2 separate regions of the Homo sapiens genome follow, and region 2 is linked to region 1. Evidence: promoter capture Hi-C in 16 types of primary human blood cells and fetal thymus (Javierre and others, 2016). All regions are on one chromosome and are shown on one strand. Each heading gives the region's core, a stretch centred on a gene start or on the middle of the fragment in contact. The rest is flanking DNA. Distances are from core to core; before and after follow the strand shown. Region 1 holds the start of ALG1 (ALG1 chitobiosyldiphosphodolichol beta-mannosyltransferase). Region 2 overlaps METTL22 (methyltransferase 22, Kin17 lysine).

Region 1 (3,934 bases), core at 5-2,504:
TTTTCAAACGAACACCCCCTGCCCCCAGCCCATGGATTCAGAGGATTCTGGAGTTGACGGCATCCTACCTGCAAGACTCTGAAGTTCTGTCAACCCCACAATCTGAATTCTGTTGTTCTGCAAGAGCTCATCATGGGGTTTGGAGTCTGAAAAATGAGAATGATCCCTTTAATGTACCAGAAGCAGCAATCTAAAGTCAGATAATCTCCCAACTCAGGCTGAATCACGGACAGTGTTTTGGAAAGTAAGATATTTCAAAACCTCTCTCTGCTCCTCACTAGCCAGAACAGAGAATGCGGCCAATTCTTGTTCAGATTGCTCTAGGAGGCACACAGAGATAGGGCCTGAATCTTACCTACCTTCACTTAACATGATGCCTGGCAAACAGTAGGTGCTCAATTAAACTAATCTAGATTGTCTGGATAGTGGAATTTTCCCACCACAGAGCCATCCCTAGGAAGTCCCACTCTACCCCATCACCCTAGGATAGCAGATTCTAAACAGGGATTAAAGGCAACTAGTGCTGTTCCCACTTCTTCCTGAGATGGGGTTGAGCTACCCTCTCAAGATACCAACGTGGAGAATAATGAGGGAGCAGACACCGCTGCCCTGCACACTGTGGGGAAAAGCTGGACATGAAGAACAAATGAAAACATCTGTCTGCAGAGCTCTGCGTTGAGGGATGAGGAATGAAATATCCTGTCAGCTCAGACATAGCCTGACAAGGGTAGCTGCACAGGGACGTAGCTACCAGCACTAGCCCTGGAGTTCCACGCACCTGGGTTCCACTTACTAGGAGAATTACGTGAGACCACGCAATGGATTCACTTAACACACTTCTGACACGTGGCAAGATTAACGCCGGCTATACCTAGAGACCCACCCAGGAAAGGCTGGGGCAGAACCGCTCGTCTAATCTCGGAGAGCTGCCCAAAGGCGGCGACTAAAGGAGCACTTCCGCCTCGACTCCCCGGGGCGGTTAGAACCGAGGATCAACGGCTGAGAGAGCATCGTCCCTCCCAGACCCTTGGCCACTCACTGCAGAACCCCAGGAGGGTCACCGAGAAGCCGTGCATGGCCAACGACAGCGCGTGGTACTGCATACGGGGGCTGCGGCCCACGTCGCCCAGCACCACCGCTACTACATGCCGGGCCGCCCGCCCCCGGCGCCAGCGCTTCCATCCTCCCAGCAGCAGCAGCGGCAGCAGCAGACACAGCGCCAGCAGGACCAAGCATGAGGCCGCCATCTTGGCTGGCCCGCAGCAGTCACGTGACCGCGCTTCCTCGCGCTGTGCGCAGCCGCAGACCGAGCCTCCGAAGTGGGCCGAGAGGGCGAGAAGTGGACGCGGTTCCCTAACAGGGGCCCGGGGAACCCCCAGGAGCCCCTCGGGGCCAAGAATTAGTAGTAGTAGGACACACGCACATACACCAGATTCCCTACACACCAGTGTATTTCCCCGACTAAAGTAAAGCTGTTACTGTATTGGGATCTAAGAACTCTCTTCAGGATTCAAAGATAATTTCAAAATATAGTGACACAAGAATTTGGATAAATTTCATCCTAACATTGATAAAGGAGCCAGATGCTGACGAGTACGAATTGTAGAGTTCCGTCTATGTAAATAAAAACCAGTCCTCGCTGTTAGAAGTTAGGGGCTGGTGGGTTCTGCTTCTGGATCTGGTGCTGGTAATGTGGGTGTGCTGCATTTGGGGCGGTACCTCAAGCAGCAGATTACCTGCCCATTTTCCAGGGTGTACATCACACTTAATAAAACATTTAAAAGGTAGAGAGGGGGAAGGACAAACAAGGAAGTAAACACCATCATGATTTTGCTTAAGTATCAATGGCTAGAAAGGAAATTTCCACAGTGACCCTCCAATTTCACCTCCCAAAGTAGCCATAGTGAGAGTTTAATGTGTGTCTCTGCGATGGCCTGTATTAGTCCGTTTTCATGCTGCTGATAAAGACATACCCGAGACTGAGCACTTTACATAAGAAAGAGGTTTCATGGACTTACAGGTCCACATGGCTGGGAAGGCCTCACCATCATGGCAGAAGGCAAGGAGGAGCAAGTCACCTCTTACATAGATGGCAGCAGGCAAAAAGAGAGCTTCTGCAGGAAAACTCCTTTTTATAAAACAATCAGGTCTCGTGAGGCTTATTCACTATCACGAGAACGGCACGGGAAACACCTGACCCCATGATTCAGTTACCTCCCACTGGGTCCCTTCCACACAACACATGGGAATTCAAGATGAGATTTGGGTGGGGACACAGCCAAACCGTATCATGACCTTTTTTCTTTGAAAGCGGTCCCTTGCAGAGAAACACCAAGAGCTCACTGGTGATGCTACCCCATTGCCTCCACTTGGGAGCTGCCGCAGAACCTGGAGAGCCACCACCCAGACCGTATTCAACAAACAAACAAGACTCCTCCCCTGATGAGGACCACAGGCAGCACCCACGGGACAGGGTAGCCCACATGGATGTGGCTCCCCAGTGTCCCTGGGCTCAGCTCAGGGCTTGGCACACTTTGCATCTGCTTTTCACAATTGCCCCATCACTCCCTTTCTATGGATTCAGAAGGGACAGCTCACGCCTTAAGCCAGACCTTGAAACCCGAGCTTTCAGAAGGAAAGGAAGGACGAGTAAGTATCTGCAGACAGCAGGGATGGGCATACAAACATGCTGGCAGCGGCATTTATCCTCCAGTTCCCAGCGAGGCCCCTGCCTCCAGGTTGCGTGTGCTGGGGTGGAGGCCTGTGACACATCGCCTGCCCAACTCTGTCGACGCTCTGTAATGGGACAGGTAGGGATCTGGGACCTCAGCCTCAGGACTCCTGGCTTTCCTGCTCCACCTCGGGCGAGTCACTCCCCATCAATTTGCTTTCTTCGTCTGTGAATTAAGGGAGGGGAACTTCAAGTCTTTGAGAGCCTGTCCTGCTCTGATGAGCTAAGAGGATAAAGACTATGGTGATGACAAACCAAAAGTAGATGCCTCCCTCTGGTAGGTGAACCTCCGTCGGGGAGGGAGTTGCCGTGGTGTCTCCTGGAGAGAGGGGACGGAGCCATCCCCAGCAGGGGGGCGGTTTCATAGCTGGGCCAGCCCACCTGTCCGGCTTTCTCACTTGGCATCCATTCCACATGAGATCCAGTCTTTCCAACAATCAAGAGGATATATGGATAAGTCACTCAATCTCCCTTGGAGCCTCAGATTTTGTTCAAGTTGACTGAGCACCCACTTGAGGGGTGATCAAGGATTAACAGAAGTAATGACAATGACAAGCTTCCCCTAGAACCTCTGTTCCCAGTGGTGCTCCCAAGGGGGCAAAAATGGCTCTTGGGGAGCAAAACATCCTTACCCTTTTTATGTATAAAGCACAGATAATGATACAATACACAAGCATGCAGTATATCTGCAGTATTAAAATTTTATGAAGGCTGAAAGCAGTGGCTCATGCCTGTAATCCCAGCACTTTGGGACGCTGAGGCGGAAGGATCACTTGAGCCCAGGAGTTCAAGACCAGCCTGGGCACCATAGTGAAACCCCATCTCTACAAAGAATACCCAAAAAATGGTGGTGGCGTGTGCCTATAGTCCCAGCTACTCGGGAGACTGAGGTGGGAAGATCACCTGAGCCCAGGGAGGTCGAGGCTGCAGTGAACCATGATCATACCACTGCACTCCAGCCTAAGTGACAAAGCGAGACCCTGTCTCAAAAAAATAAACAAGTAAAATAAAATTTCATGGGGCAGTACATAAGGAACCCTCATCTTCTGCCAGTGGGCACGTAAATGGCCCAGCCACTGTGGAAAACAGTCGTATGGTCCCTCATTAGGTTCAACATAGAATTATCACGTGACACAGCAATGGCATTCCCACGTATACACCCAGGAGAATGAAAAACAGGTTTTCGAACAAAAACTTGTAAAC
Region 2 (3,983 bases), core at 1,294-3,793, 3.6 Mb before region 1:
AGGGTCTCAGCATGTTGCCAGGGCTGGTTTCAAACCCTTGGGCTCAAGTGATACACTGCTTTGGCCTCCCAAAGTGGGATCATAGGTGTGAGCCACCGTGCCCGGCCTTTTCTAGCTCTTCAGCCTGCTTGGGGAAGGGAGATGTAGAATCTGAACCATGCCAGGGACACGGTTTAAAAAGCCTGGGGCAGAGCCTCCCAGGATGAAAGGGACAGGGACTCGCTGGGCAGGCTGAAGGCTTGTGTGCTTGTGCGTGGAGGGGAAGGGGTGTCTGTGGTCTACAGACCCCAGGCCCTCTGTGTCAGCGTCCCTGCCCAGTTCCTCTTCCCCAGTCCCACCCATGCCATCTCCTGGGTGTGGCTCGTAGCCTCCTCTCCTCTCCTCTCCCTCCATTGGCCTGGGAAAGCTTCCTCCTTGCCATCTGCTCCCTAACCCCAGCTGTCCTAAGGGTTCCTGCTGCCAGGGGAACCTTCTCATAGTGATCTTGGTCCTATGTGATTGGTCACTTCCTTCCAGGGGTCTCGTGGACGTAAGTTCTGCCTCCCAGCTGTCCTCAATGGGTGGCTAGCTTCCCTTGAGGGAGAATGAGGACTCTGAGGTCAGAGACCTGTATGACAACCCAGTTTTGTCATTTCCTAGCTGGGTGACAAGTCACTTAACTTCTTGGAGACAGAGCTACAGTTTCCTCTTTTGCAAAATGCAGAAGTAGCCTCATCCCTCATTTCTAAGGCTGTAACAGTGTTTAACCAGACAGCGCTTCTGAGAGAGCACAGGCTCGGCAGACATCTGAGAACCATTGAGGTGGTCAAGGACCCCAGCCCTTGCACAGGTGGAGATCACTGAAGCCCAGAAGGGGGACATGACCAGCCCAGGGTCATAGTCTGAGAAAAAAACATCTAATTAGATCAAAATGTGTCGAGATGGCCGGGTAGTGGCTCACACCTATAATCCCAGCACTTTGGAAGGCTAAAGCAGGAGGATCGCCTGAAGCCAGGAGTTTGAGACCAGCCTGGGTAACGAAGTGCAAAGTGAGACCCATATTTTTCTAAAGCCAAATAGAAACAAAAGAGGATTTAAAATGAAGTCATTTGGGAGTCTGACCAAGAACTGATCTAAGATGTGCTTTCTGCTGATGCTGATAACACGAGAAAACACCAGGGCGAATTGATAAGGGAGAGAACAAGAGGCTCAGGGATGGATCAAAGGAAGAAGCGGATGCTGTGCAACTCCCTGGGGCCAGATGGAAAAAGCCAGAATGAATTCCCCAGGAAGCTGAGTGTGGCCGACCTTAAGGGCACTCTCCTTTCTTGTGTCTGACATCCTCGACTCCGGAGTGCAGAGATTCCGAGGTCTACCCGACCCCTGCCCCGTTTCAGGCACTTGCTAGTGTTCGAATGGGTAAATATGCTTCTTCATGACTCATCAGGATAGTCAGAGATCACAACAAATGCCCAGTATGTCAGCCCTGGGCCGGGCGCGGTCCAGGTGGCTGCATAGGGGTGAGGAAGAAGGATTCAGTCTAGGGGTGGAGGCCCAGGTGACTTAGGGACCTCCCTACCCAGGGCCATCTTGGGGCTCCCACTCCTGTGAAAAGTCAGAGTTTATATTTAAATAATCCCAAAGGTATCATGAGAACATAAAAGACCAGCCTGAGGAACTATCCCCATGAGAAACTCTAGGGCTAGCAATGGGATGAGACAGTGTTAGAATCTCACCTGTCCTTATCAGATTCTAGAATTACGTCTTATCTCATTTGCAAACTGGGTCTCTAGACCTGCAGGAACCTAGACTGTTCGTCAGCCAGTCTCCCTCCTCCCAGCTTGGGCCAGTCCCCAGGACAGAGGCTTACATTTACGGAACACTGAATCCGTGCCAGGCATTACGCTAAGAGCTTTGTATGTGCTGTCTCTCTGAATTCCTTACAACTGGAGGAGGTTGTACCCCTTGTACAGACAAGGAAACTGAACTCAGAGAGGCTAAGCGACTTGCCCGATTCTCCAGCAGGAAGGCACGGGACTCAGAATCTGACGGCCTGAGTTCCAGCCCTGCCTTTCTCGAGTTCTCTTGGGGTCTCACTTTATTTCTACAGTGGGGGAATTGAACATAATTTCTTTTGAATCCTGGGTCTGTGGATTCCTGGCAGATCCCTGGATAAACTTTTTAAGGTTTTGTCAATCCCTTGGAATAGTTAAGAAAACACCTATTTTTCTTTTTCTTTAGAAAAACCAGTTTCTCAAATGGGTCTATAACTTGAAAAAAATGGGTTGATTTACGGGTCAGAGGAAAAGGGTTGTGAGGCGAATGACGTCTGCTTACCATCAACTCTGCGCCAGGCCCTGCTCCTGGCGCTCACTGGGCATGTTTCAATAAATTATCACTAAAACCCAGGGACAGTGGTTCCCCTGATCACGTGGTTCTGACCATGTGGTTCTGAGTGGGTAAGACATTTGTCTCTGGTCACCTGGCTTGTGAAGATGGAGCTGGGCTCAAAATCCAGCCCTGCAGGATTAGATCAAGTTTTGCAGATGAAAGTGCTCTAGCCAGTTTGAAATAATCACGAATTACTACCTAGGTTCATGCATTAGCTACCATTCCACTCTCCTCCGTCAGGGCAGGTAGTGAGTGACTGACAGCTGAAAAAGTGAACTTCCAGGTATACAGACAAGGGGGCCTCACCGTGAGGTCACCGGAACAGGGCAGGAGGGGAAGCTGGTCACAGGCCAGCCTCTTCCCGAGGGACTTTGTTCTTAGCTCATACAATGGTAAATTCCCAGAACATTCACTACAGACACAACAATTCACTGTGGAGTAACTGACAGGTTTGCTCCCCAGCTTGGGGAGGCTAATAACAGTGAGGGCTCAGAGGGAAATGAGCCATCGTCGGCCCCCCTGAGAAGCAGGACTTTCCAAGCCTCTTTCGAAAGCTCTGCCCCCATGATGTGGAATGACAGCACAGGCTGTGGCGTCAGACAGACCTAGGTACAAGTCTCAGCTCTGCCACTGACTAGCTGTGTGACCCCAGCAAGTTCCTCAACCTCGCTGAGCCTCAGTCTCTTCCTCTGTGAAATGGGAATACTCATCCCTATCTGCAGAGGCCATGAGGGCAGAGGTCACCCATGGGATACATGGAACTGGGTTCTGGTATGAGTTCCACGTTGCCCTCTCTGGGACAGTCTAGAACAGAGGCTGCTTGGTACCACCGTGGAGGCGCTTAGTAACTGTTTGCTGAGCAGATAGATACAGAGCTGCTGTTTTGTCTGTTTTTGAGAGTGACCCACTGACCCCCATTCTCTGACCAAAGGCCAGTGCTGGGGGAGGCCTTTCCCTGGGAACTCAAGACACCATCGGGGACCCTGGATCTCAATGAACGGCCTCAAATCACAGCTCCGCTCCCCAAATGAGCAGCGCCAGGGGGAGGCAAAGCCCTGGTGTGGACACTGTGTGGATTCGAAGCTCGCTCACCACCACCAAGCAGCATGGCGCTAGGCCTTTCACTTCCTCATCCATGCACCCCCTCAGGAGGGGTTGTGCAGACTAGGCCACTCGATACTAGTGAAGATATCCAAAACACGATAGGTGCTTAACCAGGACCGATCACTTCCTGGCCCAGCTCCCTACTGCTCCCGGTGTTTCTAGAGTGCCAGGTCCCTAGATTTCAAATCCTAGAGTCAGCAAACCCCTCTGCTCTGCCCCCATACCTGGGTAGCAGTTCCTCTTTGATCCCACCTCTGAGTATCTGTCCAAACCTCTCTCCTGTCCCACTTTTCCCGCCACTTCATCACTCCCCTTTCTTACCTGGCTTCTAGCTCCCAGCTCCCAGTCCATCTGACTGGTCCACGCCCCATTCATTTTCATTTACATCCCTCTCCCTCTGCCACACTCCAGCTCCAGAACCTCCCATGGCTCCCTACTGCCAGCCCAGCCAGGCCAAGCCTGTCCCACACCCCCAACACGCTGAGTTAGAGCAAGAGCACAGATGTGGG

Evidence for each region. Contacts are between HindIII fragments. The CHiCAGO score rates a contact against its expected background, and 5 or more counts as called.
Region 2: a contact is called between a fragment that was not itself captured here and the fragment with the promoter of ALG1 in region 1, in 1 of 17 cell types (M1 macrophages). The highest score is 7.6, in M1 macrophages.

The regions. Positions count from the first base shown.
Region 1 is chr16:5,069,163-5,073,096 of GRCh38, reverse strand. It overlaps ALG1 (ALG1 chitobiosyldiphosphodolichol beta-mannosyltransferase), which reads right to left and starts at 1,254. Exons shown (of 13, transcript NM_019109.5): 1 at 1,040-1,254; 2 at 69-146. The coding sequence starts at 1,247. RefSeq lists enhancers at 795-854, 1,025-1,134, 1,165-1,224. The HindIII fragment of the contact is 10,202 bases long and covers 1-3,289 here.
Region 2 is chr16:8,629,443-8,633,425 of GRCh38, reverse strand. The region is part of intron 3 of METTL22 (methyltransferase 22, Kin17 lysine); the gene reads right to left. Among named protein-coding and RNA genes, the nearest start is that of METTL22, 9.7 kb to the right of the region's middle. The HindIII fragment of the contact is 4,270 bases long and covers 409-3,983 here.